Regions from separate parts of the Homo sapiens genome. Here region 1 is linked to region 2. The links are contacts of gene promoters, found by promoter capture Hi-C in blood cells and fetal thymus (Javierre and others, 2016). All regions are on one chromosome and are shown on one strand. Each heading gives the region's core, a stretch centred on a gene start or on the middle of the fragment in contact. The rest is flanking DNA. Distances are from core to core; before and after follow the strand shown. Region 1 has its middle 32 kb from the start of RBMXL2. Region 2 holds the start of OLFML1 (olfactomedin like 1).

What was found. Contacts are between HindIII fragments. The CHiCAGO score rates a contact against its expected background, and 5 or more counts as called.
Region 1: a fragment that was not itself captured here is called in contact with the fragment with the promoter of OLFML1 in region 2 in 1 of 17 cell types (endothelial precursors); the score reaches 8.4 in endothelial precursors.

What each region holds. Positions count from the first base shown.
Region 1 is chr11:7,119,076-7,123,607 of GRCh38, forward strand. No RefSeq gene overlaps it. Among named protein-coding and RNA genes, the nearest start is that of RBMXL2, 32 kb to the left of the region's middle. The HindIII fragment of the contact is 2,186 bases long and covers 856-3,041 here.
Region 2 is chr11:7,483,278-7,487,534 of GRCh38, forward strand. OLFML1 (olfactomedin like 1) reads left to right here and starts at 2,229. Exons shown (of 3, transcript NM_198474.4): 1 at 2,229-2,727. The coding sequence starts at 2,599. RefSeq lists an enhancer at 1,906-2,410. The HindIII fragment of the contact is 6,703 bases long and covers 1-4,257 here.

The DNA.
Region 1 (4,532 bases), core at 699-3,198, 360 kb before region 2:
CTTACTGGATATACAACAGGCAACTCACATGGTTATGGACTGAATGTCTGTGTCCTTCCGAAATTCATACATTGAAAAATCCCAACCCCCAGTGCAGTGGTACTGGGGGAGGGTCTTTGGGAGGTAATTAGGTCATGAGGGTGAGGCCCTCAAGAGTGGGATTAGTACCCTCATTAGAAGATACACAAGGGAGGTGATACCTATTTCTGCTATTTGAGGATATAATTAGAAGATGGGCATTTGTAAACCTGGAACAGGGCCTTCACCAGAACCCAACTATACTGGCACTCTGATCTTAGACTTCCAGTCTCCAGAACTGTGAGAAATGAATGTTTATTCTTCAAGCCACCTAGTCGATGGTAATTTGTTATAGCAGCCTGAGCTGGCTAAGAGAGAGACTCAAGAAGTCACAAGCTGAATTCATCATCTTCTTTCTAAAACACCCTCTCTATACTCTACCAGTGAATGTTACTACCATGATCTCAGTCTCCTATGCAGGGATCATAGATGTCCCTGTATGTTTCAAGTTTTTCCACGTTCTCCATCTCTAATTATCATTAAAACATATTGATTCTATCTCCTTAACACTTCTGCATCCACCTTCTTATTTCCATTCACATGGCTATTGCCTTGGTTCAGTGCCTTCTAGATCCCTTCCCTGATATATCACAGCAGTCTTTTAACTATTTGCCACCTTCAGTGTAGCCCCATTTCAATTTTAATCTCAATGCTTCAGACAAAGTGGCATTTTAAAAACTCACATTTAGAACTAAAATATCTCTCATGTTAAAACTAGACAATAGCTCCCCATTAACTATTGAATAACTTTTAAACATTTTTGTAAATAATGTATAAAGCTTGTATCCTGCATATTGTACAGCTTTATCTCTCATTGCAGTTCTCTCTGCAGGTTTTGTCTTCTGCTTAAAATTTTCTGAATAGAAAAATCTGTTTCATACCTCCATATCTTTGTTCGTGCTGTGCACTCTACCTGTACCTTCTCTGTCTCTTCTCTTTGCCAGATATAATTTTAAGGGCTGAACAGTGATTAGCTTATACATAAAGTCTTTCCTAACCACCCCCTCCATCTTTTGTATGTACACTGAACCTTATGCAGCCTTGGATTATCACTCACATGTTCCACCAACACGGCAGTTCTAAGGCCCTGGTCTGTTTACATTATTGTTCTTACTCTTCTGATGCTTAATTGCAAAAATGTCTATTCCTGCGAGACTGCAAGGCCTGGGTGGAGGAGGCATTTAGGGCCTAGGAGACAGCATTGGCTAATGGATCCTGTGGGGCTGGAGCTAAAAAGGCATTGTTTATAAATAAAGGAAATGGCCAAAAGTAACGGGAGCCAAGTTTCTCACTGTAAGAGAAAGGATATTCAATAATTTAAAGGGTGAAAATTAGAACAGAATGGTGTTCCATCAGAATTGGAGATACCAGTATGATGAACTCTTGAGAGAGATATATATTTATATTATACACACACACAAACACACACACACACGAGAGAGAGAGTGAAAGAAAGGAAAAGGACATAGCCCTGTATGTGCATGTGTAGATAGATACATGTGTGTGTGTGTACATTTTCTATATTTTCTAGCTTTTTCTGCTGAGACAGCCTAAAAGCAATGGAGCCCCAGCAGCAAAGAACACACATAGTGTCCAGATCTGGACTTATATATGTATGTTTCTCCAATAAGAGAAACAAAGACTTTTTAGAGAAATGTTTAATTCCAGGGCTGGGGCAAGGAAAGTACAAGATGAGCCCAAAATATCTTGATTTGTCATAAAACAAGAGAATGATTAAAAACAATGTGGACTTATCAAAATGACACAGTAAGCAGCCAGAAGGACCACTGGGAGAGTTTCAGCATCAAAATAAATAAAGATAGTAATGAATTATAACCTATTGATTAAAATAAGGATCAGTGAGTCCATAGTGAGATAAATGATTAAAGAAATATGGGAGAAGCAAAAGCTCTTTCTTACAGTACAGAATCAACTAGTAAATGTAGAAGGAATGATAGAAAGTTAGGAAGTCATTATTAGCAAACATCATAGTAATTATTTAGGCATGAATCATCAATAGAGTATAAAACTAGTGGGTAAAAGTTTGATGAGGAATAAGATATTAATGTAATATCAAAGGATCTCTCCACAAAATACTTAATTGTAAAGGGAAGACTACAAATTTATAGTGAAGAAATTTGGCAAGCACCACCTTTATCTAGTGATAAAAATTAACATCATTTAGAATGATACAAATCAACATTGTCTTCTTGTTATGATCTGCTGAGAAGAACATAGCATCATTTCTGTGATGTTCCTGCCATAAATGCATAACCTGAATCTAATATTGAAGCAGCATTATTAAACTCAAGTTGAGGGGAATTCTACAAAATAGCTAGCTTGTACTATTCAAAAATGTCAACATCATGAACGAGAAAAGACAGAAACTGTTTCAGACGGAAGAAAATGAAAAGTGACAACGGTAGCATTTTATCTCAGGCAGAACTTGAACCAGAATATTCTTGTACTTTCCTTTGCTATAATGTACAATATTGGGACTATTTGTGAAATTTGAATGGAATTTGTGAATTTTATGGTCTCAATGTTCATTTTCTCAATTTTGTACTTATATAGGAGAGTGTCCTTTTCTTAGAGATATAGGCATAATGGATTATCATGGCTTCCACTTATTTTCAACTGGTTTGGGGGGAAAATGTGTGTGTGTGGATAAAGGCAGGGTGGAGTGGGGAGAGAGAATGGCAAAGAAATTGTGTCAAATGTTAACAATTGGGAACCCTGACAAGGCATACTGAAATTCTTTTTACTCATCTTACAACCTTTCTCTAACTTTGAAATTATTATAAAATAAAATGTTTTTAATCACTATTTCTTTGCCACTTTTTGTACTTCAATTTTCTTTCCCAACTTCAACTACCTTCTAGTGATCTTCAAAGGCTCATGGAAATAAATTTATAAAATACAGAAATGAATTCATTAAAATAAGAAGTGTAACATGGTGTTTAAGCTTTTGTGCTCTTGAATCAAACTTCCTGAGTTCAAAATTCCAACCCATATGTGGTTTTAAGGCAAATCACTTAACTTCTCCATGTCTATTTTCTCATCTGTACAATAGGAATGATAAAAAAAAAAAAAAGCTCACTTTATGATTGGGGAGAATTAAGTCATTCAGCATATTTAAAACACATAGCACAGTGCCCAGCACATGGTAAATAATTAATGTATATTCAAAAAATTTTGAAGGACTTATTGAGAAAGATTACTGCAGAAAAAAGCTGATTTGTGTAGCATTTTGTTTACTAGAATCTCTGTAGAACCTGAGTGGCTGACAATCCTAAAGAACCTCCATATCCACATAATAATAATTTAATATCTGCAAGCCATGAAAATCTGAGCAGAAGACTGAGGAATCAATCCACGTGAGAATTTTAATTATAAGAATGAGTGGGTTTTCTTATTAACATACTTAAAAACCACTGCCACCACTGCCCAGATTCATCAGACAGTAGGGAGGATGGGGAAGCATAAGGCAGCTACTTTTACTGAGATTCAGAACGGAACAAACCCTGGATACTGCAGGCAATGCCCAATAGTTTTTCCATGAGCTATTTAAAAACTGGAGAAGTATTGGATTTTATGAGGTCAGTCAGTGAAGCAGAAAAAGCTCAGTTTGCCTGTGATGCTCCTGGAATACAAGTAATATATCTGCATTGCAGCAGAGGAGCAATGTAGGGAAGGAAATGTAAGAAAACTGGGTGAAGAGAAACACAATTAAAATCACATGCTCCAAGCTCTCAGTCTAAAATAAAATCCTTCTCAAGTTATTGTCTTTGAAGGACATTATGGCAGTCAAGAGCACTGGTTTTATAGCCAGACAGATCTAAATGTGAATCTTGGCTTTGTCACTTGATGCTCAACAGTTAATCTTGAATAAGTTACAGAACCTCTCGAAGACTTAGATACCTGAAATAGAAAATGGGATGATAGAACTTGCCTCAGAGTTTTATGTGAGCACCAAATGAGGTAATATTAAAATGACTGTCACACGTGTTCAGTACACATATTTATTGCTCCTTTTCTGACAGAAAGCATGAAGCAACAAGAAAAAAAGACAAATTTGGGAAGAAAAAGTTTTTATTTATTTTTCACTATTAAGTTAATATTCTTGTAGTTTTTTGTTAACTTTTTATTTAGAGATATACATTATTAATATAATACATTAAGAAATAAGAAAATATTAAATTATTAAGAAATAATACAGAAATATTCCAGTTTGAAGAACCTTTATTCAATTTAGTCAGTTTAGAGTAACCCTCATTAAACTCTTCCAAGCACGAATCTCCTCCATTTCTATAATTTTGTATTTTTAAGAATGTTATATAAATGGAGTGATGCAGTGTGTAACCTTTAAAGATTGGCTGTTGTTTTTTTAAACTCAACAAAATTCTCTGGAGATGCATTCAGGTTTTTGCATGTTTTAATAGTTTGTATCTTTT
Region 2 (4,257 bases), core at 979-3,478:
CATTTAGAGAAAACAGTCAGCTCAGGCCTGGCTTATAGATTAAGGACCAGTCACCTGGATCCAACCACACAGAGGAAATAGTGGTGGATATAAAGGAGCTTATTTCCCCTCTCAGGATACCGGGGTAGAAAAGCGGAAGGATCAGACACTTGCAGAGGAGAAAAGAGAAGTCACTGTGCTTGTCCACTGTCCTGGCTAGTAATAGCAACGGTCAAGGCCAGAGGTTACGTGTAATGAAGACAGTGGAGCTAACTGATTTCGTCCAGCTGCAGGTCTAGGTGCGGCAGGCCATCTTTTTCACCCTTATCCACCCGGCACCCACTGAGGAGGGACTGTTCTAATAAAGATGGCTTCAGTAGGCCACTGCGAGTCAAGGCTGGGTCTGTCTCCAAAGTGAGTTTGGTTTTTCTTTATGAAACCTCTGGTCACGAGAATATGAGAGTTTCCACTCTGGTTCTGAACTATGGGTCATCAATCCTAATGGGTTATGGGTTCCAGCTGTGAGATTTGCTGTCCCTGTTTGGGATTACAAAAAGTAAATGAAGCTCTCCAGTTAAGACCAGGTGTGGGCAGTCAGAGCTGAGAGGCCAGGAGTGTCCCTCTGAAGAAGGTGGTGACCGCAGAGAAAGTGGTGCTGGGCCTGAATCACTGGTGGGCAGAGATGGTGCCTGCCAGTCCTGAGCCAACCTCTTTGGAGCCCACTCCACAGAGATAAGAGCAACAGCAGCCCTGAAAGCACCTCAAGGACTTCTGCTGCAACCGAGGCTTCCCACTGCATTTCCCCCTTACAGACTCTCCAGTAATTCTTTAGACTCTGTAAGTATGGCATGTGTATTTCATTGAAAAAGTAATGTAAGCATGCTCTAGAAAACCCAGGAAAGAACTACCCACACCACCACCACCGAAAAGTTAATTAGATACAATCAGAGTTTTCCTCCACTGGACCTTATCCATCTTAGTTCACAGTCTCAGAGTTAGGACTTGAGGCATTTGTGGAAGTAAATCAACTAGAGCACCCTTAAGACTTTATTCAAAAATGCTAGGCATGAGTAATTTCAGAGAGAATATTCTCACTTGGAGAAGCAGCGTGAGCCAGACAGAATTTTTAATAAGGATTTAGGAGGCAGGGTCAGCTGAAGTTCAACTGGTTTAGGGAATAGTGCAAAGATGGTTCTAAGAAATATGAGGAATTGTTTCTAAGGATGATGAACTACTGTTTGGGATTTTTACCGAGAGGGTGAGGAGGAATAGTTAGGAGCTGTGGCCATATGGAAGAAGGGTGGGGAGAAATATTACCGGGCATAAGGAAGTTTAAGGACCACCAGTGGAAAATTCTCAGTCTATGTGTCTCTTTTAAAAAAATTTTGTGGATACATAGTAGGTGTTTATGGGGTACGTGAAATGTTTTGATAAAGGTATCTATTAGCGTCTCTTGTGAGGACCAAATGGAAACACAGGCCTTCTGACTCCTGGAGAGCATTCTTTTCACATTCCATAGATGCCCCAGCCTTTCTCAGTTTGGCAGGTGATTGAGAAAGAACCCCAAGGCGTCCTGGCCTTTCCCATGGAAAGGCAGGTTGAGATAAGAAGAGGGCTGGACTGCACAGACAAATTCAAAGATTTTACCACCTTGTCCTAGGGTTATAATTTATCTTCAATTGGACCAGGGCCTGCAGGAGTTTAGTCCTACATATTTCTGGCCTGCAGCTACATGAAGGGAATTCTGCCTCCAGTGATTGAGAAAACTCAAGGATTTCCTTACAAAGGCGTTTCACTTTTTGATGGCTTGACCCTGGAAGCATCACTGTATCAATGATTGTTGTTGTTCCTCTTAATCAAATTATTCTCAGCTCCATCCTGAGATGTTTCAGCTGACAGCCTGGATGGCCAGGCCTGTAGCCCATTGTACCTTTCTGCCCAAGGGGCGATGTAGCCCTGTGCACTGGCTGTTCAGAGATAGTGGTAGATCCATGTTTATTTTTCCTGGCTGTGCCTTTAAGAGCTGCAGGAATGTGAAGGGAGTCTGGATGAGGGGTGGGGTCTCCCAATAGGACTTCTGGAAAAGGATCCTGGGAATTTTTGCCAGAAACTAAACTGAGAGTCCAACTTTAAAAAGTTGGGGGTGGTTTGTGTTGGGGAAGGCCTGCGATTGGACTGCAGAATCCACTAGGGAGGAGGAAAGCAAAAGTAAAAAGGAAATAGCTGGGGGAAGGGAACGGGGGGAAGCCATCTTCACCCCCCACCCCAATGCACACACAATTAAGCCAGGAAGCAGCTTGCAACCACTAGCCTGGGGAGGGTCCGCATGTGTCAAGGGTGAGGGCAACAGATGCTGGACCCAGGGAGCTCTCTGCCACAGGTCAGTCTACAAGGCCTCAGGGACCAACTTGCCAACAGCTGGACTTGATCACTAGCTGGCAAACTGAGCTCACGTATCGGGTGGAATAACAAGCGGACTTTGCTCTCTGCTGTGCAAAACGCTGTTTTTAGAGGATTTGCCACAGCAGCGGATAGAGCAGGAGAGCACCACCGGAGCCCTTGAGACATCCTTGAGAAGAGCCACAGCATAAGAGACTGCCCTGCTTGGTGTTTTGCAGGATGATGGTGGCCCTTCGAGGAGCTTCTGCATTGCTGGTTCTGTTCCTTGCAGCTTTTCTGCCCCCGCCGCAGTGTACCCAGGACCCAGCCATGGTGCATTACATCTACCAGCGCTTTCGAGTCTTGGAGGTAGGTGGCATCTGTACACCTTGGATAAGTAACAGGCTTCCCAGAAGTACCTTATTTTTACCCATGCTTCTCTATCTACTGGGTTGTATTTTTCCCAGATAGCAAATGACACATTGCCAAAGTTACACTTTAAAATGCTCATAGTCTGGCAGTTTAGAGCCGAACTCCAGAGTCCAGTGTGCTACTTCCAGACCTTAAGCACAGTTGCACTTTGTGCTCTGATTTGGCAGTTTGTCTCATCTGTAAAATGGGGATAATAGTAGAATTTATGTTGTAAGGCTATCCTGAAGATTTAATCCATAGCTAAAATACTGCCTGGCATAATGGTATGTATCTAAAATGTTATTATTCACCATAGTTCATTTTTTAAAATATGAAACTTAAAAATGTTGGTTACTTTTTCTTCATGTTTTAGTGTTTCAGGCTGATAATGGATTTCAGCTTTTCGTTTTGTCTTTTATGATAAACCATTAGGTCACTGTAAAAAGTCATGATATCAATGTACTGAGAAGTCTTAGTTTCTTTTGCTGAACTGGATTTAGACTTAGAAGTGAGCAGATTTCAGCCAAGTTAAACAGAAAGAATGCATTTGGGCTGCCACCTCATTAAAATGTGCAAAACCCAACATTTTGGCAGCCTGGACAGGCTCCCAGGGACAAATGTAACCCTCCACCCTAGCCTTTGCCACACCCTGGCATTGATTATTCATACTTAATGGCTTGCTTTTGTACAAGCTAAATTGATAAATTATTTATCTTCTTTCAAAGACCCTCTTATTGCTAATAATTATTTTATACATTTTCCTGAAAAATCTTCATGTCCAAATTATATGTTCTTCTAGTTATAGTCAGGGTAAAGTAATTCCACATAGCAGGCCGAATGCATTTCCTAAGGGCGTCCAGCCAACAGGCTGGGGCCTGGAGGCAGTGGATGAAGTGTTCCCAGACGAGCGGCCTCTTGCGCTTCTTCACTTGCTCCCTCCTGAGCCTCACCTCCTTAGAAGTGCCAGAATGATGCTCAGTCAGGATCCCTCTGCATTTAGCACCGACTTGCCTTGGGAGTAAAGCCAGCCAAATCCCTGCAAATTGTCTTTCACTACCTTAAGAACTTGTCAAGGGTATGAAGTACAGACTGATCCTTTTATAGCTATGAATGTGGATTTGAAAAAGACAAGGATATGATCTGTATAGATCTTCCCACCCCAGTCCTGACCTGAGGTGAAGCCAAGTCGCAGGTGGCAGTCACTGTTGGCCAGCGCAGACACTTAACAATACAGTGATAGCATTCCCAGCCTGAGAAGCCAGTGTCGGAGGGGTAGGAAAAAAGAGGGTAGGGATTTAGGGAATTATTTTGGGTCTCTCTTTCTGTCTTTCTCCCTTCAAAATAAACAGCCTTACGTATTGTTGTTTGGAGCATACATTTTTACATTTGTGGATAGAATTTTGATAAACCATGCCAAATGAGCTTTAAGTAGACATTCTCTTTGACCAAGCAATCCCATTTCCATTCATTTATTCTTTTGTTCAGCAA